4 separate regions of the Homo sapiens genome follow, and regions 1, 3 and 4 are each linked to region 2. The links are contacts of gene promoters, found by promoter capture Hi-C in blood cells and fetal thymus (Javierre and others, 2016). All regions are on one chromosome and are shown on one strand. Each heading gives the region's core, a stretch centred on a gene start or on the middle of the fragment in contact. The rest is flanking DNA. Distances are from core to core; before and after follow the strand shown.

Region 1 (4,948 bases), core at 1,987-4,486, 340 kb before region 2:
ATGAATGCCTGGAAGATTAAAAAGTAATCACTGAGAAAAAAAAGGACTTTCAGGCTCAGGATATGAAAGAGCCAGGCCAAGCATGGTGGCTCACGGCTGTAATCCCAGCACTTTGGGAGGCCAAGGAGGGCGGATCACTTGAGGTCAGGAGTTGGAGCCCAGCCTGGCCAACATGGTGAAACCCCACCTCTACTAACAATACAAAAATCAGCTGGGCGTGGTGGCGCATGCCTGTATTCTCAGCTATGTGGGAGGCTGAGGCAGGAGAATTGCTTGAACCCAGGAGGCAGAGGTTGCAGTGAGCCAAGATCACTCCACTGCACTCCAGCATGGGCGATGGAGTGAGACTGTGTCTCAAAAAAAAAAAAAAAAAAAAAGCCAGCAAAGATTTAAAATCAAGAGTTTTCTTTATAATCATGAAAAATAGTTCAGATAAAAGAAATTAAAAGACTAGCAGCACCAATAAGATGAATACCTTATAAATGAGAGGGCTAATGTGTATTACAAAGTTAAAATCAGCAAATACAAAATTAAAATGAAAAGCTATGAAGTTGGTCTTAAAAGTTACTCTCCACAAGAGATAAAAGTTAAGAGGTTTAAAATAATGATAAAGTGACAAAATAAATGTGATTTAAGAAGATAGATGATCAATGCCTCAGGTCTGGGATTAAAAGATTAAAAATACAAACATTAAAGACGTAAGTCTGAGAAGATGGAGATGACCACCCAGGAGACAGAGAGACGGTGCAGAGAAGGGGACCGCAGATGAAGAACTGGCATTAGGGAGAAAGAATATCTTGTTTCTTTTCTTTTCTTCTTTTTTCTTTAAGAAGATACTGGGGGTCAGGCAGGGCGTGATGGCTCGTGCCTGTAATCCCAGCACTTTGGGAGGCCGAGACAGGGGGATCACGAGGTCAAGGGATTGAGACCATCTTGGCCAACATGGTGAAACCCTGTCTCTACTAAAAATACAAAAAAATTAGCTGGGTGTGGTGGCGCACACCTGTAGTCCCAGCTACTCAGGAGGCTGAGGCAGGAGAATCAGTTGATCTCAGGAGGCAGAGGTTGCAGTGAGCCGAGGGCCAAGGTCACGCCACTGCACTCCAGCCTGGCGACAGAGCAAGACTCTGTCCAAAAAATCCCCAAAAAGATACAGTGTCTCACTATGTTGCCCAGACTGATCTCCAGCTCCTGGGCTCAAGTGAGCCTCCTGCTTCAGCCTCCCAGAGTGCTAGGATTACAGGCATGAGCCACCGCACCTGGCCCATATTTATTTTCTGAACAAGAGATAAACTTTCAAGTAAAGAGGACTGAAATAAAAGAAAGAAAGAAGGAAGGAAAGAAAGAACAAACGAAAGAAAGAAAGAAAGAAAGAAAGAAAGAAAGAAAGAAAGAAAGAAAGAAAGAAAAACAGCTTTATTTATTTATTTATTATTTATTTATTTGAGACAGGGTCTCGCTCTGTCATCCAGGCTGGAGGGCAGTGGCATGATCATGGCTCACTGCAGCCTCGGCCTCCTGGACTCAGGTGATCCTCCCACGTCAGCCTCCCCAGTAGCTGGGATTACAGACATGTGCCGCCATGCCTGGGGTTTCACCATGTTGCCCAGGCTGGTCTCGAACTCCTAAGCTCAAGCAATCCTCCCGCCTCGACCTCCCAAAGTGCCAGATTACAGGTGTGAGCCACCATGTCCAGTACAGAAAAGTTGTTTTAAAGAAAACAATTCTGGGTGGATCACCTGAGGTTAGGAGTTGAGACCAGCCTAACCAACATGGTGAAACCCTGACTCTACTAAAAATACAAAATTAGCTGGGCGTGGTGGCGCATGCCTGTAATCCCAGCTACTTGGGAGGCTGAGGCAGGAGAATCGCTTGAACACGGGAAGCAGAGGTTGCAGTGAACAGAGATTGCGCCACTGCACTCCAGCTTGGGTGACAGAGCGGGACTCCACTTCAAAATAAAGAAGGAAAAAGAAAGAAAGAAAAAGAGATAAAGGAAGGGAGGAAAGAGAAAGAAAGAAAGAGAGAGAAAGAGAGAAAGAAAGAGAAAGAAGAAAGAGAAAGAAAGAAGGAAGGAAAGAAAAAGAAAGAAAAAAGAAAGAAAGAAAGGAAAGAAAGAAAAAGAAAGAAAGAAGGAAAGAAAGAAAGTGGGTGGGCAGAAAGGAAGGAGGCAGGGAGGGAGGAGGGAAGGAAGAAGAGAAGGAGGGAGGGAGGGAAGGAGGGAGGGAGGGAAGGAGGGAGGGAGGGAAGGAAGGAAGGAAATCAATTAATTAATAGAGTTACTAAAAAATATTGAATAAATAAATGAAGAAAACTATAGCCAAAAGCTTGAACATTTCGGATCAAGATGGTCAAATAAACTCAAATTACAAAAAAAAAAAAAAAAAAACAAAAATGAGGACAATTAGATGACTTGGAAAGGGTACAGAAAGAGGACAGTTTGTCAGGATGCGGGGGCAACCTGGCAGTGTCTGGAGCTCTGGGAGAGCAGTTGAGGTGGAGTGCAAGATTGAAGATGGAAGTTTGTGCAGTGGTGGAATTGATCAATCCGTCTGACAGCCACTCGTGGGCACCTGTGTGCCACGCCCTGGGCTGAGAGTCAGAGATGTGGGGGTGGCAGTGGTGGCTCATGCCTGTAATCCCAGCAATCTAGGAGGCTGAGACAGGCCAATCGTTTGAGCCCAAGAGTTCGAGACCAGCCTGGGCAACATGGCAAAACCCCATCTCTCTAAAAATACAAACAATTAGCTGGGCATGGTGGTGCACACCTGTAGTCCCAGCTACTTGGAAGGCTGAGGCAGGAGGACGGCTTGAGCCCAGAGATGAAGGCTGCAGTGAGCTGATTGCACCACTGCACTCCAGCCTGGGCAACAGAGTGAGACTCTGTCACACACACACAAGGAAAAAAACACACAAAAATTTCAGTTAGGAGGACTAAGTTCAAGAGATCCAAGTACAACATGGTGGCTATCCTTGATAACAATGTGTTCTAAACTTGCAAAGTACCAAGACAGTGGATTTTAAGCGTTCTCAGCACACTCCCCACAAAAAGACAAATGAGGTAATGCATATGCTAATTAGCTTGATGTAGCTGGTCCACACTTTATACATATTTCAAAACATCATATTGCACACCATAAATAGATACAATTTTTGTCAATTTAAAAAAAGAGGTTAGAGATATGTTGCGGTGCACACAGAGCACTCCCCTCTAGGGAGAGAGGTGTGAATCAAGTCCCCGATGGGCGCGTCTCTGCAGGCCGTGAAGAAAAAGTGTGTGTGTGTGCATGTGTGTATGTGTGCACAAGTGTGGATGTATATGCATGTATATGCGTGTGTGTATGTGTATGTGTATGTATATTGTTTGTGTGTATATATGTGCATGTTTGTGTATGTGAGTATACATCTCTTTGTGTGTAACGTGTGTATGTGCGTGTGTACCTGTGTACATGTGTATATGTGTACATGTATGTGTGTCTGTGTGTATGTGTATTTGTCCGTGTGTACATGTGTCTGTAGTGTTTGTGTGTCTGTGTATGTACGTGTTTGTGTATGTGTATGAGTTTTTGTGTATGTGTACGTATTTGTGTGTGTCTGTGTACGTGTCTATAGTGTTTGTGTATGTATGTGTTTGTGTATGTATATGTGTATGCATGTGTGTACGTGTGTACATGTATGTGTGTACGTGTGTGCATGTTTATATGTGTCTCTGTGTGCGTGTATATATATATGATGTGTACATGTATGTGTGTCTCTGTGTATGTGTGTATGTATCTGTGTGTGTGTGCCCATGCATGTGTGTGGGTCACTTGGAAAGGCCTGGGGGTGTGGGGTTGGAGGCAGGATCTGAGGCCTGAGCTGGGGGTGGGGGACAGGGCCCAGAGTGTGATGAATATGATGGACCCCAGGCTGCGGACCCGGTGCGGGGCTGTGAAGGTGCTCCTGGTGAACTCCAGGCTTGGGGCTGCTGGGAAACCGAGGCACAGCTGTGCGTGGGGCCAGCTGGAAATTGTGGCAGCGGGAGAGGGTGGCTGGGAGGGGGTCTAGACGGGGCTGGAGCCACCCTGGAGGCAGCAAGTCCTTCCCTTTGCTGGTAGCTCCAGAGAAAGGGCCCACAGCCTTACCCAAGGTTCCAGAGAAGCTTCTAGAAGTGAGCATCCTGGTTATTCGTCCTATACCATGTTCCTTCTGAATTTACACTGGACCCCAACTTCAGTCTCAAAACACTTCCCAGCCTCTCTTGGGGAGTGGGAGCGGGACCAGGGTGACTGCCCAGCTGAGGTTGGCAAGGGGGACGTGATGGGAGGGTTCAGGACTGAGAAAGTAGGCCAGGGTCAGCTCTGTGGAGGGAGCCCAGCCTGCGGGGAGGGGAGGCAGTGCTGTGCGGGAGGAGGGAGGCCAGGACAGTCCTGGCCCGGCACGGTCCCAGAGAGGGAATGAATGTCCACGCCCTGGCCGGCCTCTCTCCCAGGGATGGAAGTGTGGACACACACGGATACTCACAGAGAGGCCTGAACCAAGTCTGGGAGGCAACAGGGACAGGGAGCTCTGGGACTAGGAGCCGGGACACCTGGGTCCCCGTTGTTGCTCCCACGTGCAAAGCTGGCCTGTGTCTCCAGCCTTGCAGCCCTAAAGCCCAGTCTGGACAGAGGGTGGAATGGACAAGCCGCAGTGAGAGGGCCGAGGGTGACACCTGCTGGTAAATGGGAGGCATCACAGGCAAGACTTGGCTGGTGGGTCTCTTGCCGCCCAGGGGTGCGTGGTGTCACCCACCCTCCAGCCTCCCCTCCTGTTCTTCACCCCAGGACCCCACAAAAGGAGAAGGCAAATGTTTCCCGATCAGACCTGGAGGGTTTGATCAATGTCTCCCTCTCAGGCAGAGCAAAGAGAAGTGGGGCAAGAGAAGTCCCAGTTTATTTTTTTGAGACGGGGTCTTGCTCTGTCATCC
Region 2 (4,936 bases), core at 828-3,327:
TTTAGGGCAACACAGGCCCTGGGCACCCCACCCTACCTGAAGCAGTCTGCGTGCCAGTCCGCGTTCAGGGCCTGGAGGTACTGGCCATCATAGATCCTCTGGCCGCAGCTTGCACACACGGGCAACTCGCTTCCTGCAGGGTGGGAAGGGAGTTGGGAAGCATTCTCAGGAAGTGTGATCTGGTGCAGGCCCAGCTTGCCCTGCCCACCCCACATATACCTACACCTGCACCAATCCTCGCACACTGCACATGTGCAGCGCCCAGGCAGGGCAGTCGCTGTGCCAAATAGGAGAAGAAAGGGCGCTGGCCTGAGTCTTGCTGAGATACTGACTAGGTTGCCAAGCTTCTCTGGCCCTGTTTCCCTATGTATCAGCTTAGGAGGAGGATCAGGTCCATCCTCCCGCTATAGCATTGGATCTGGCAAGGTAAATGAGGAGAAAGGAAGCAGTGGCTTTAGGGATAAGGCAGTGGGTGACATTCCTATCACAGCCTCCTTTCTTCCCTCTCCTGCCCAGGAAGAAGTACTAAGAGGGCCCTTCAAAGGCAGGGACTGGACAGGGCTGGATTAGTGCATCCTGGGCTGAAGCCAGCTGGGAGGTCAAGGGCAGGAAGCCTGGAGGTGCCGGCCCTAACAGATCCTTGGCAATGAATGCCCTGGCTTGGCAAGGGGAGGGGGCTGCAGACCTGGGTACTCCCAGACACCTGTCCCAGGGAGGCCTGGCACCTCCTCTAGCCAGCCACAGGCATGCTTAGTCATCCTTGGGGCCTGGCACCCTTGGAGCTGGTGGGCCCTGGAAAATGCCCCAGACCTGCCCCTCTCCACTGTACAGAAGGGGAGACTGAGCCCCAGAGATGGCATGGCTTGCCCAGTCACATAGCTAGGTCCCAAGGCCACAACAGCCTGACCCTCTGTGAAGACGCAGGTACCTTAGGTAGGCAGGGGCTACAGGAAGGTGGGCCCCTACCCCAATCAGGTTTTCATGGGCCTGGGAAGAGTTGGTGGCAGGGGGAGGTGTGGAGTCAGGCCCTGCCTTGGGGCCAGGTGGATCTAAGTGACAGGTCAGCGAAGGAGATCCAAGGAGGGGCCCCCAGACCCTGTCCTAGGCTGGGGGAGTCCTTGAACCCTAACTGCAGTGCAGTACTGCGCCTTGGGCCCCAGTGAGGGAGAAGGGGCTAAAGAGGAGGTTAGGATGAGTCATGCTCCCAGCCAAGACTGAGGGCAGGCACCGGGTTTGGGGCACGGACAGGGAGAGTGGATGAGGCTCCCGCAGTACACGGCCTCCGGCTTCCTGGACGCCTATCTCCGCTCTACCCATCTGGCCCCCAATCACCGACACCGGGGGGGCAACTACCCAGTTTCCAAATGTACAGAAGGGGAAACTGAGGACCAGGAAGTCAGCGCCTGGCTCAAGGTCACAGAGCCGGGCAGGCGCCCGGCGGCCACTGGGACCCGGGGCTGCGGCTTCCCCAGCCGCTCTTTCTTCCGAGACTGGATAAAGGGTGGCCCCAGGGCGAGGCCCGGGTGGTGGACAGAGCACGCGGATGGAGGCCGACGCGGGGTGGGCAGTGTCTGGGAGTCCTTCGCGGGGGGACGTGGGAGGAGGAAAAAGGGTCCAGGGGCCCCCAGACCCGCAGGAGGGCAGCTCGCCGGGGGCCGGGGAGGGGGATCCCGGGCGGGAGGGGGACAGGGAGGGGCCTGCGGGCTTCGTAAGGACGAGCTCATCCCGGAGGAGGCAGGGGCGCGGCCTCCTGGCAGACCCGGCCCCCTCCCGTGCCCCACGCTGCCCCGGGCACCCCCTCCAGGCCCTCGCCCCACACCCCGCGGCCCGCGCACCTTCCTCTCCCATACGTTCTTCCCTCCAGGTGCAACAAAGTAGCGTCAACCTCATGCACTCGACGGGGGGCGGGGCCCGGCGGGGCTGGGGCTGGGGGCGGCCGGGCCCGCGAGCTCGCCCACCGCCGCCGGCCCGGGGAGGCGGGGGCGGAGGGCGCGGGCCGGGCCGGGCCGGGCCGGGGGCGCCTCTCGGACACCGGCGGGGAAACCGGCTCGGCGCCGCGGCGGCTTGGGGAGCGAGCGGAGGGGCGGACCGAGGCGGGGCCTGTGAGCTGCGGCACGGGGGCGGGGCGCGGGCGGCCGGCGGCGGGAACGGCCCTGCGCGGCCCCGCCCCCACCAGAAAACCCCGCCCCCACGCCCAAGGCCACGCCTCTAGAGGCCACGCCCCGCTGCGGCCCGGCCTGGGGGCGCCGCGAGCTGGCGCGGCGCGCCCCGCCCCTCCCCGCCCCTTCCGCCCTTCATTCATTCTTCTTTCTCCCAGCGACAGGCCTCGGCTGGGAGCTGCGAGGCCCAGCTGTCTCGGAGGGCCGCTAGCTCTGCTGGGGCAGGCCAGGAGGATGTAGGAGCCTAGAGAAGGGGCCTCCGCTTCCCTGCGCGAGGCCCCCACAGACCCAAACCAGCTGCAGCCGGGAACTCGGATCAGAGCTGGAGAGGCCCTGTGGACCCCCAGGACACTGGTGGTCGCCTTGGGGAGGGGAGGGAGGCGGGCCGGGTTTTGTCCCTCTCTCTGAGGCCTGCATTGAGGCCAGGCTGGGCCCGGGGAAGGTGACGGTCCGCGTCTCAGGCCTCGCGAATGAGCAGCACCAGAGAAAGGAGCGAGCCCCTGCCAGGCGGTGACAGGTGTACTCTTCTCAGTGCCGATTACCTGGAGCTGGGGCTGCCCTGCCCAGGGTCCTGGAGGGAGCACGGGTTTGGGCTGAGTCAAGCGTCCAAAGGAATTGGGTGGTCCAGTCCAGCACTGATGGTGGAACGCCCTGCCTAGATGTGGACAATTCTAGAATGCTGGACATGGGCAGGAAGCAACCCTGTCCCCCCTAGGTCTACCTTCCACGTCATCCCTCTGCCCAGGAAGCAGTGACCGGAGTGGAGCCACGTGCCCACGTGAACCCAGTGAACAAGAGGCAGCGCTAGCCCAGCTCCAACTCTAGTCATCATGTTTGTGGGGAGAGGTCTAGGCACGTCTGCAAAGTGGGGGGCACTCACCCCTGGGTGCAAAACAATTACGTGGGGTGGGAAGAAAATACTAGATTTTTTTTTTCTTTTTTTAGATTCGGTCTCGCTCTGTTGCCTAGGCTGGAGTGCAGTGGCGGGATCTCGGCTCACCGCAGTCTCCACCTCCCAGGTTCAAGCAATTCTCCCACCTTAGCCTCCCGAGTAGCTGATATTACAGGCGTGCACCACCATGACCGACTAATTTTTGTATTTTTAGTAGAGATGAGGTTTCACCATGTTGACCAGGCTGGTCCTGAACTCCTGACCTCAGGTGATCCACCCTCCTCGGCTTCCCAAAGTGCTGGGATTACAGGTGTGAGCCACCACGCCTGGCCAGAATTTTTAATTTCTCATGAGAAAGAAGGCTGGGCACAGTGGCTCACACCTATAATCCCAGCACTTTGGGAGGCCAAGGTGGGAGCATCACGTGGGGCCAGGAATTGGAGATCAGCTTAAGCAATGAAGTGAAACCCTGTCTCTTCTAACTTTTTTTTTTTTTGAAATGGAGTTTCACTCTTGTTGCCCAGGCTGGAGTGCAATGGTGCGATCTCAGCTCACAGCAACCTCCACCTCCCGGGTTCAAGCCATTCTCCTGCCTCAGCCTCTGGAATAGCTGGGATTATAGGCATGCACCACCATACCTGGCTAATTTTGTATTTTTAATAGAGACGGGGTTTCTCCATGTTGGTCAGGCTGGTCTCGAATTCTGGACCTCAGGTGATCCACCCACCTTGGCCTCCCAAAGTGCTGGGATTACAGGCGTGAGCCACCGCGCCCAGACTTTTTTTTTTTTTTTTAATTAGCCAGGCATGGTGGCTCATGCCTGTAGTTAGTTACTTGGGAGGCTGAGGTGGGAGGATACTTGACCTCAGGAGGTTGAGGCTGCAGTGAGCTATGATTGCACCATTGCACTCTAGCCTGGGTGACAGAGACCCTGTCAAAAAAGATAGGGAGGGAAAAAAAGGGGAAGGAAAGAGAGGGGAATGAGAGCCTTGTAACTTGGCTGTAGGGCATATACCAGGCAGGACCCTGGCTGGAAACAGAAAGTGCCACTTAGTGGGGCTAACTGGGGAGAGTTTGATAAAGGGGATGTTTGCAATGCACTGGGGAGGGGGGATTAAAGGAGATCAGTAAGGACTGGCACAGTTGGAGGGGTGGCAGCAGTTACCAGCCCAGGGTAAGGGGGCATAGAGGGGGTCCCTGGAGGAGAGGCCTGCCTGAGAGGAGCTGTGCAAGAGGGGTCCCCAGTTCTGGGGGACTCATGGGGAAGAGGGCCCAGAAGGGCTATTCTGATCTGACTCCCCTGCTCTTCTTATTCTTCCATTGCCTCCCGTTAACCAATCCCGTCTGGATGCAGCGGGCAGGGCCATGTTGATGCTGTGCCCACAGTGCAGGGCAGAGAAGTGCATAGTGGCCTGGAGGGGCTGTGAGCCTGAGCCAGCTTGGTTGAGTGATGTTATCCAGTTTTGACTAAATTAACCCTCACAGAATGGACTCATAGTTGAAAACAATTCCTGCAAAGAAAGCACAGATTGGGCCTGGCGTGGTGGCTCACACCTGTAATCCCAGCACTTTGAGAGGCTGAGGCGGGTGGATCGTGAGGTCAGGAGATCGAGACCATCCTGGCCAACATGGTGAAACCCCGTCTCTACTAAAAATACAAAAATTAGCTGGGCATGGTGGTACGTGCCTGCAATCCCAGCTACTTGGGAGGCTGAGGCAGGAAAATCGCTTGAACCAGGGAGTTGGAGGTTGCGGTGAGCCGAGATTGCGCCACTGCACCCCAGCCTGGTGACAGAGCAAGACTCCATCTCAAAAAAAAAAAAAGAAAGCACAGATTGAAGATGATGCAGACTGGGTGCAGTGGCTTATACCTGTAATCCCAGCA
Region 3 (4,890 bases), core at 1,587-4,086, 310 kb before region 2:
TTCCCGGGACAGAGCTGCCTCCCCCTTCAGACCAGGGTTCCGGGACAGAGCTGCCTCCCTCTTCAGATCAAGGTTCCCGGGACAGAGATGCCTTCCCTTTCAGACTAGGGTTCCCAGGACAGAGCTGCCTCTCCCTTCAGATCAAGGTTCCTAGGACAGAAATGCCTCCCCCTTCAGACTAGGGTTCCCGGGACAGAGCTACCTCCCCCTTCAGACCGGGGGCTTCTGGGACAGAGCTGCCTCCCCCTTCACATCAGGGTTCCTGGGACAGAGCTGCCTCCCCCTTCAGACCAGGGGTTCCCGGGACAGAGCTACCTCCCCATTCAGACCCGGGTTCCTGAGACAGGGCTGCCTCCCCCTTCAGACTGGGGTTCCCAGGACAGAGCTGCCTCCTTCTTCAAACCAGGGTTTCTGGGACAGGGCTACCTCCCCCTTCAGACCAGGTTCCTGGGACGAGCTCCCTACCTCCTCAGACTGGGGTTTTAAAGACAAGGCTGCCTCCCGCATCAGACGGGGGCTCCGAGGACACTGCCCCGTGGCTTGCCTCCTGGTGGGCCCTGTCAGCCGCGGCTCACCTGGGCCTTGTCAGGGCAGCTCCTCATGGCCTCCATCAGCTTCTCCACCTGCTGAGCCTGGTCCAGCGCATCCCGCAGGGCGTCCTCCGTGCTCATCAGCTGGTGCTGCAGCCGCAGAAGCTCGGGCGCCGAGGACCGGTCGATGAGGGAGTAGCGCCTCTGATCCGACAGGGATTTCTCTTTGTCCTGGAAGTGGCAGGAGAGTGGAAGAGTACATGAGTGTGCGTGTGTGTGTTGGTGGGCGTCTCAACTCTAGGCAGGAAAGTCTTCCAGCCTCACTTTGTCTCTGGGTTCCAAGCCTGGGCATCACCCAGAGGTCCCTCAGGCCTCTGTGAGGTGCTCCATGGTCTCCAAGTGGGGAACCCAGGACCCCATCCCTCTTGACTTTTTTTTTTTTTTTTTTTTTGAGACAGAGTCTCGCTCTATCACCTAGGCTGGAGTGCAGTGGCGCGATCTTGGGTCTCTGCAAGCTCCGCCTCCCGGGTTCATGCCATTCTCCTGCCTCAGCCTCCTGAGTAGCTGGGAGGGGCCCACCACCACGCCCCGCTAATTTTTTCCTATTTTTAGTAGAGACGTGGTTTCACCGTGTTAGCCAGGATGGTCTCAATCTCCTGACCTCGTGATCCACCCGCCTCGGCTTCCCAAAGTGCTGGGATTACAGGCATGAGCCACTGCGCCCAGCCTTGCCTTTAAAAATAATTAAAAAAAGAGACAGAGACCGAGCCTGGTGGCTCACGCCTGTAATCCCAGCACTTTGGGAGGCCGAGGCAGGCAGATCACCTGAGGTCAGGAGTTCGAGACCAGCCTGGTCAACATGGTAAAACCCCATTTCTACTAAAAGTACAAAAATTAGCAGGGTGTGGTGGCTCACATCTGTAGTCCCAGCTACTCTGGAGGCCTAGGCAGGAGAATCGCTTGAACCCGGGAGGTGGAGGTTGCAGTGAGCCAAGATCATGCCACTGCACTCCAGCCTGGGCGACAGAGTGAGACTTGGTCCCCACCCCCCCCCCCCCAAAAAAAGACTGAGTCTCACTCTATTGTGCAGGCTGGAGTGCAGTGGTGCAATCACAGCTCATTACAGCCTCCAATTCCTGGGCTCAAGTGATCCTCCCACCTCAGCCTCCCGAGTAGCTGATACTGCAGGGCATGCAACCACACTTGGCTAATTTTTAACTTTTTTTGTAGAGATGCGGTCTTGTTATGAGGTCCAGGCTGGTCTCGAACTCCTGACCTCAAGCCATCCTCCCAACTTGGCCTCCCAAAGCAGTGGGATTATAGGCATGAGCCACCGCACCCAGCACCCTTCTTCTTACACTGCCCCCACCCAACTGTCTTATGAGGTTCCTCCTCTCCATAGTCACCCCCACCATGGCACCCAGAGCTGTACCTGCCCCAAGGCCCGCCAGCCTCCTCGCTCCTGCACAAACTCCATCCTTCAGCACTGCCCAGTCCTGCCTGCTCTGACCCTCCAAACCACCTCCCAACAGAACCTCCATCCTGAAATCAAGAGGCTTCTACCCACACACCAAGGCTTCCCAAGTTCTCCCGTGGACACAGTGCAGGGAGATGATGAGACAAGAGGCTACCCTGGGGCAGAGGCCGCCACTTCCCAAGTAAACTTGACCAATCTGTGCCCCATGGGCACCAGTCTGAGCTCAGCACTGCGCACTCCTACAAGGCTCTAGGGAAGCCCCTGGGGGTATTCAAGACTCCCCAGTCCGTGCCAACCCCAGGGGCTTATCTTCTGTTGAGCCACAGGGACCACAGAGGGTGCAGCCACCAACCCCTGCTAGCCAGATAGGCCAGGACTTGAAGGCCGGCAGGACTCAGTGACCCCCACAGCCACAGTCTGGGTGTGTGGCCAGAGTGATGCTCTTTATCCCGGAACCCTGAGGGCCAAGGGCCTACTCCCGGATATAGGGGGTCGGTGGCGCTGAGGCCCTCCCTCCAGCCTGTGAACCACCCCCTTGCCCAGGGCTGGGCCCTGCTCTCCTTCCATCACCTCTACAGTGGCTGAGCCCAATGTCTGGGCAGGAGGGTGGTGGGGGGCTTCAGGACAGCTTTCCCAGGCAAGGGCCTGTCCTCCTGGACCCCACGCCCTCCATATCGTGACGTTCACCAGGCTCAGGCTTGTCCTGAGTGCTCATCACAGGAGGATGGGATGGGGATGGGGTGGTTTCTTTATTCTTTTTTTTTTGAGACAAAGTCTCACTCTGTCGCCCAGGCTGCAGTGCAGTGGCGCAATCTCAGCTCACTCCAACCTCCGCCTCCTGGGTTCAAGTGATTCTCCTGCCTCAACCTCCCAAGTAGCTGGGATTACAGGCACACTCCACCATGCCCGGCTAATTTTTGTATTTTTAGCAGAGATGGGGTTTCGCCATGTTGGCCAGGCTGGTCTCGTACTCTTGACCTCAAGTGATCCGCCTGCCTCAGCCTCCCAAAGTGCTGGGATTACAGGTGTGAGCCATTGCGCCTGGCCAAGGGATGGGGATGGTCCTGTGCTATGCTACCAGCATCACCTGCCTACCCCAACCCGTCTCTGCAGACTCAGTGAAGTCAGGTTCCTATTCATAATAGAAAAGAAATCTCGACCGGGCGCAGTGGCTGACACCTGTAATCCCACCACTTTGGGAGGCCGAGGCAGGAGGATCACAAGGTCAGGAGTTCGAGACCATCCTGCCTAACACGGTGAAACCCTGTCTCTACTAAAAATACAAAAAAATTAGCCAGGCGTGGTGGCGGGTGCCTGTAGTCCCAGCTACTTGGGAGGCTGAGGCAGGAGAATGGTGTGAACCAGGGAGGCAGAGCTTACAGTGAGCTGAGATCGCGCCACTGCACTCCAGCCTGGGCAACAGAGCGAGACTCTGTCTCAAAAAAAAAAAAAAAAAACAAAAAAAACTCAGCCACCCAGAATCCCAGGCTTGCTGTAGACTTTCAAGTTCTTGTCTCCTTCCTGAGACTGATGTGTGAAGCCCCACTGCAGGACCCTGAGCAAGGAACTGGCTTGTGGTTGATTACTCCTCTGAACAGGGAGCTCTTTACCTGTATTGGCTCATCCTGCCTCTGGACAGGTCAGATAGGAAGTTTTCCTTTGCACCGTATCACACAGACTGCCACATAGGCAGCCATGATGTCTGCAAAAGCGGCTAGCCAGGGTCCCTCCACCTGCCTGTGGTCCTAGAAGATTTCAAATCCTCACCATGACTCAGCTGTCCCTGGGGTCATTCCAGGAGGTCTCCAGTCTCCATGGCCTGACAGCAAGGCTAGCCCAGCCCCACCCGGACTAGTGCCCCTGCCCCTAGGCCACCCCTACCCCACATACCAGCCCGGTCAGCTTTTCACGCAGGCCCCGGATGTCATCCTTGAGTTTCTGCTCCTTGATCCGCCACTCAGCCTTGTGTACCTCACGGCTCAGGTCCCTCTCCGGCCCTGGGGAGTGACGATTGGCCTCCAGCAGCAACACCCGCAGTTCGTTCAGGCTCCTGGGGGTGAGGCGGGCACAGAACCACTGCACTCAGCCCTGGCTCCTCCAGCTCCCACACTCTAGCAATTTGCCAAGTGTCCAGGGGCTGACCAACTGGTGGGGGACATGGGCTACTAGATGGCATCTGTGCCACGAGGGGCCACAGTAGACACAATTCAACCAAAGCCCAAGAGGGGCCAGGATTTGGGGCTGGGATGGTCCTGAGGACTTGACCTTTCCTAGAGTACTTTTTAAAGTTGTTGTGGGGGGAGTGCAGAGCACAGTGGCTCACGCCTGTAATCCCAGCACTTCAGAAGGCCGAGGTGGGCGGATCATTTGAGGTCAGGAGTTTGAGACCAGCCTGGCCAACATGGTGAAACCCCATCTCTACTAAAAATACAAAAATTAGCCAGTCGTGGTGGTAAGTGCCTGTAATCCCAGGTACTCGGGCAGCTGAGGCAGGAGAATCACTTGGACCTGGAAGGTGGAGGTTGCAGTGAGCCAAGATCGTGCCATTGCACTCCAGCCTGGGCAACAGAGCAAGGCTGTCTCAAAGAAAATAATAATAAATAAAATTTTTAAAGAAAAGACAATATATTTGTTTAATTAAAACACACACACACACACACACATAACCCCAAAACATTTACCCAAGAAATCTCATGAGGCAAGACATTTTATCTATTTTTAAAAAATAGAGACAGGGTCTTGCTATGTCGCCCAGGGTCATCTTGAACTCCTGGCCTCAAGTGATCCTCCCGCCTTGGCTTCCCAAAACGCTGGGATTACAAGTTTGAGCCACCACCCCTGGCCAGCAAGACATTTTAAATACCTGATGTCAAATGGGTTTTA
Region 4 (5,164 bases), core at 874-3,373, 300 kb before region 2:
CCACTGTACTCCAGCCTGGCGACAGAGCGAAACTCCGTCTAAAATAAATAAATAAATAAAAGTAAAGTATAAACTAAATAAATAAATAAAAATAAAATATAAACCAAACAAATAATAAGGTTTGATATTCCATTAAGTTTACTATTCCGTTAAATCTGTTTCAAAAGAAAAAGAAAAAAAAGACAGCAACTTGGAAGGCTGGTGCAATGCCTATCCCTCCGTAAACTGGCCTCCTCCCTTGCAGGAGTACATAGCTCACAGCACACAGGAGGTGACTCTTACCAAATGGCAGATGATGCAAACCAAAATGTGACCCAGCAGGAAGGCAGAGCCAGCCAGCCTCTTCCCAGAGCCCAGAGTCCCGCCCGGCCTGGTGGCCACTCACCCTCCACAGTTTCCTTCGTCCTGATCGTCTCCTCTGAAATGTCATTCGACTCAATCATCTGCAAAAAGAGCCCCTGTAAGGGGGATGCTCACCTCTGCCCCTTGGCCCCAGCCCCAGCCAGCCCAGCAAGCACACCTGCAGTTTGCACACCCTACTCCTACAAAGGGGGACCTCAGTGACGGACTCAGGGACTTGCTGCGGTGGCAGGGAGTGCAGACGTCCTCAGTCGGACCTCCCTGACAACAGAGGACCCCCATTCTGCACCCAGCTCTGCTGAAGGCCGCCTGTGCAGCTTATACATGAATACCTCCTACCCTTCCTTTGTTGAAAATGTTTATTATATTAAACAGATGGCTCCTTCCCTGCAATGCCTACAGAAATTTGTCCTGGGAATTTGTTTCTCTGTCTCCCAGAGACAAGACTTCTGGCCTCAGTTTCCCATCCATCAAACAAATATTGGCTGCTTTGGGTTAGTGTGTGCACAGCGTGCTTGGGGCCACCTCCTGGAGGGACTTCATTAAATGCTAGCTTCTTTCTCTCCAACATTTCTTTTTAATAATAAACCCAGAGGCCAAAGAAGAAAAGACCTATTAAAAAAAAAAATCAGCCTGGCACACATCACTATGACAAAAGTCAAAACACAACCAATAGGCTCCCTGCCACTCTTGGCAGGAGTTTCCAGTCTCCTGCCCAGGCTGGCTGTCCTCCGAGCCAGCCAGAGTCTGGCACTGCAGATCAGGGAAGCACAGAGCTGAGTAGGCAGTCACCTCTATCATCCTGCCCCTCATACTTCTGTTCATACATCCCAAGTCCCATTTGAGTCTCAATTAGTTGTAATGAACTAAGCCCCTTGGATCATAATTTATATACGATGCAGTAATGAGGCTCACACTAAATTTTTCTTTTTCTTTTTTTTTGAGAAGGAGTCTCGCCCTGATATCCAGGCTAGAGTGCAATGGCTCAATCTCAGCTCACTGCAACCTCCACCTCCCGGGTTCAAGCGATTCTCCTGCCTCGGCCTCCCGAGCGAGTAGCTGGGATTACAGGTGCCCACCACCACGCCCAGCTAATTTTGGGGTTTTTTTATTATTATTTTTTGAGATGGAGTCTCACTCCGTCGCCCAGGCTGGAGTGCAGTGGCGTGATCTCGGCTCACTGCAACCTCTGCCTCCAGGACTCTGAAGCGATTCTCCTGCCTCAGCCTCCCGAGTAGCTGGGACTACAGGCGCCCGCCACCATGCCCGGCTAATTTTTTGTATTTTTAGTAGAGACGGGTTTTCACCATGTTGGCCAGGCTGGTCTCAAACTCCTGACCTCAGGTGATCCACCTGCCTTGGCATCCCAAAGTGCTGGGATTACAGGTGTGAGCCACAGCACCTGGCCACTAAAATAATTTTTAAAATTCCCATATTTACTACCTGAGACCAAAAGTCCAGTTGTGCTTAGGCCTAAACCTCTGAACATGGGGACATATGCGTTTAGACTAAGCCCCAGTGTATACAGAAAATCAAGAGATGGGCTTTTTTTTTTTTTTCCAGACGGAGTCTCCCTCTGTTGCCCAGGCCGGAGTGCAGTGGCACGATCTTGGCTCACTGCAACCTCCACGTCCCGGGTTCAAGTAATCCTTGTGCCTCAGCCTCCTGAGTAGCTGGGATTACAGGTGTGAGCCACCGCGCCCGGCCAGGAGATGGGCTTTCTGGGGCCACTACTACTTCTTGGTCCAAGGGCACCTGTGAATGAGGGGCAGGGACTGGGGGAGGCATCCTCAGGCCTCTGTCCCCCATGCTCTGTGGAACCACAGCAACCTCAAACCTCCCCGCTCAGGGAATTCAGTTCCTGAGTTGCAGGCTGTTTCTGCCTGCCCTGAACAGCTAATCAGGCCATGTGCACGTAAGCTAATTTGGGTTTCTTCCTTTTCTTTCAGCCCAGGATCCTGGAAGAGCACTTGCTAAAAAACAAAATCCCTTCCTGGGAGAAGGGGCAGGAAGGCCATTACAAGGGACCTCAAGGCATGATGCAAAAAGATTTCCTTTTAGACAAAAAAAGCCCCCTGGATTCATTAGTCCTGAGAACTTACTGCCCACATGCTAAATTCTCGGGTTTTTTTGGTTTGTGTATTTTCTTGAGTCACAGCCTCACACTGTCACTCAGGCTGGAGTGCAGTGGTGCAATCATAGCTCACTGCAGCCTCAAACACCTGGGCTCAAGTGATCCTCTTGCCTCAGCCTCCAGCGTAGCTGGGGACTACAGGTACACTACCACTGTACTCGGCTAATTTTTTATTTTTGTAGAGATGGGGTCTAACTATGTTGTCCAGGCTGGTCTCAAACTCCTGGCCTGAAGCAATCCTCCTGCCTCAGCCTCTCGAAATGCTGGAATTATAGGTGTGAGCCACCACACCCACCCCTAAATTCTGGTTTGAATATACATGAGGGTGGTCAGGTGCAGTACCTACTCCCTGTAATCCCAGCACTTTGGGAGGCAAAGGCGGGCAGACAGCTTGAGCCCAGGAGTTTGAGACCAGCCTGGGCAACATGAGGAAACCCCATCTCTACAAAAACTATAAAAATTAGCCAGGTGTGGTGGGGCACACCTGTGGTCCTGGCGACTTGGAAGGCTGAAGTGGGAGGCTCGCTCAAGCCTGGGAGGTTGAGACTGTAGTGAGCCATGATCATGCCACTGCACTCCAGCCTGGGAGACAGAACAAGACCCTGTCTCAAAAACAAAACCAAAAAAAAGGCCAGGGATGGTGCCTCACGCCTGTAATCCCAGCACTTTGGGAGGCCGAGGCGGGCAGATCACCTGAAGTCAGGAGTTTGAGACCAGCCTGGACTACCTGGCGAAACCCCACCTCTACTAAAAATATAAGAATTAGCTGGGCGTGGTGGTGCATGCCTGTAATTGCAGCTACTTGGGAGGCTGATACAGGAGAATTGCTTGAACCTGGGAGGCGGAGGTTGCAGTGAGCCGAGATCCCACCACTGCACTCCAGCCTGGGCAACAAGAGCAAAACTCCATCTCAAAAAAAAAAAAAATGTATGTGGGGGAACTGGAAACTCAAGAATCTCTGAGTACAATTTGTATACAGGCAAGAGTCCGTTGCTAGCCATCCCTCCTATGAATTAATTCCTGTTGTCTTGGGCACTCTCTGTCAGCCCCACAGGGAATGGGGTTGAACATCTCTGCCACTGAGAGGCTGTGGACCTGGGAAAGTCTTGGTTTGCTCACCTGTGAAATGGAGCCAGTATCAATCTAAGGATGTTAAGGTGAAATGGAGTCACATAGGGCCTGGCATAAGACGTGGTACCCAGAGCCACTCAAAAGGCCCTTCCTGGCCCTGGTGGAGTGGGCACAGCCCACCTGGGTGTTGACCTCCTCAGAGGGGCTGGGAGGATGGGTTCAGCTGAAGGAAGAAGGGGTAGATGCTTAAGGAATTTCTAGATTTGGAGCAAAATTGACATTGGTGACAGCGACCTCTTTAGGGCCACCCCCTCTAGCCTTCCAGACCCCACTCCGGGAACTCCCACATTCTGGGGAAGTACTCGTTGGCACCGTTGCTAAAGTCTCATTAGGACTGGCAGAAAGGGGGCTGCCGCTGATTCCCCAGGTGAGCTTCTAAGTTGGAGATGGGTGCCCCCAGGGGGATAGGCAGAGCTTGCCTTCAGGTCTGTGCCAGCCCCAGGGCACAGGGTCTGAGGTCCCGGGTCCTAGGAGCCCTGCACCCTAAGACATGTATGGGTAAATCAAAGCCCGTCCTCTGCACGGAGGTCCCATCTCTCCAGGTCTGCTCTGTGCGGGGGGATGCAGCCAGGTCAGCTCAGACCAGCTTCGGTTCTCCCTGGTCACCAGGGCGCACTGCCCCTCTAACAGAGGGCCAAGGAGCTCCTCCTCCTCTAAGCCAGGTGACCCCTTCCTTGACTGCCCCAGGCATGCTCTCGGGGACAAGGGAAATGCTTCCTGGGCTGCAGAACAGAGGTCAGCAAAAGGCCAAGCCCTCCCCAGCCCGACCCTCCCGCCCCAGCAGGAGGGGCAGGCGCCTACGTGGGTGTGCTGGGAGGAGCACAGGGCCTCGACCGCCTGGAGTCTGTTCTCAGCCACCAGGAGCTTCTCCCGCAAACTCTCGACCTCCTGTTTGCCCTGGGCTTCTGCCCGCTGCAGCCGCTCGTAGTCCAACATCTTCTTCTCGGCCAGCGAGATCTGCTCCTTGAGGAACTCGATAGCCTGCGCCTGGCCCCGGTACTCCACGTCCAGTTTTTCCAGCTCGTGCACACGCAGCTCGGCATCCCGGCGCTGGTCCTGGGCCTCCTGCAGCTCCAGCCGGTGCTGGCTGGCTTGCACCTCCAGCTGGGCCCGCCAGTGCCGCTGCAGCCCAGCCAGCTCCTCCTGGGCCTCCTGCAGCTTCTCTCGCAGGGCCTCCTTCTCCTTCACGTGCATGGCGGTCTCCAGGTCATGCTTGGCCTGCAAGTTACCCAGCTCCAGCTGGTGCTCCATCTTGATGCCCTCCATCACTGCCTTCAGCTCGCCGATCTCCTTCTGCTGGGCGCCTGGGCCCGAGTTCAGGGTGGCTTTGAGGTCCTCCAGGGACTTCTGGTGGTCCGAGGCCAGCGAGTCCAGCTTGGATTTCCAGTTGTCCATTAGCCCCATGTTCTCGCTGGTGGCCTGCTGAACCTTGTCCTTCAGGCCCGCCACCTCCTGTGCGTACTTCTCGTTGGCCGCGCGGAGCTTGTCCACCTCCGCCTGGTAGGCCTTCAGGGCCTTCTCGTATTTATCCCGCAGCAC

What was found. Contacts are between HindIII fragments. The CHiCAGO score rates a contact against its expected background, and 5 or more counts as called.
Region 1: a fragment that was not itself captured here is called in contact with the fragment with the promoter of LIMK1 in region 2 in 2 of 17 cell types (naive B cells and total B cells); the score reaches 7.9 in naive B cells.
Region 3: a contact is called between a fragment that was not itself captured here and the fragment with the promoter of LIMK1 in region 2, in 10 of 17 cell types (neutrophils, fetal thymus, naive CD8 T cells and 7 more). The highest score is 13.1, in neutrophils.
Region 4: a contact is called between a fragment that was not itself captured here and the fragment with the promoter of LIMK1 in region 2, in 6 of 17 cell types (naive B cells, megakaryocytes, neutrophils and 3 more). The highest score is 7.6, in naive B cells.

What each region holds. Positions count from the first base shown.
Region 1 is chr7:74,417,316-74,422,263 of GRCh38, reverse strand. No RefSeq gene overlaps it. Among named protein-coding and RNA genes, the nearest start is that of GTF2IRD1, 34 kb to the left of the region's middle. RefSeq lists a silencer at 4,639-4,768. The HindIII fragment of the contact is 1,814 bases long and covers 2,330-4,143 here.
Region 2 is chr7:74,080,945-74,085,880 of GRCh38, reverse strand. LIMK1 (LIM domain kinase 1) reads right to left here and starts at 2,077. Exons shown (of 16, transcript NM_002314.4): 1 at 1,836-2,077; 2 at 37-133. The coding sequence starts at 1,890. RefSeq lists enhancers at 1-152, 1,264-1,533, 2,020-2,698, 2,594-2,703, 2,699-3,377 and 1 more and silencers at 1,724-1,773, 1,884-1,933, 2,054-2,323. The HindIII fragment of the contact is 9,779 bases long and covers 347-4,936 here.
Region 3 is chr7:74,396,241-74,401,130 of GRCh38, reverse strand. CLIP2 (CAP-Gly domain containing linker protein 2) reads right to left here. Exons shown (of 17, transcript NM_003388.5): 14 at 3,898-4,057; 15 at 576-761. Among named protein-coding and RNA genes, the nearest start is that of GTF2IRD1, 55 kb to the left of the region's middle. The HindIII fragment of the contact is 6,759 bases long and covers 1-4,890 here.
Region 4 is chr7:74,376,085-74,381,248 of GRCh38, reverse strand. It overlaps CLIP2 (CAP-Gly domain containing linker protein 2), which reads right to left. Exons shown (of 17, transcript NM_003388.5): 10 at 4,427-5,164; 11 at 386-443. Among named protein-coding and RNA genes, the nearest start is that of GTF2IRD1, 75 kb to the left of the region's middle. RefSeq lists enhancers at 1-448, 449-949. The HindIII fragment of the contact is 8,624 bases long and covers 1-5,164 here.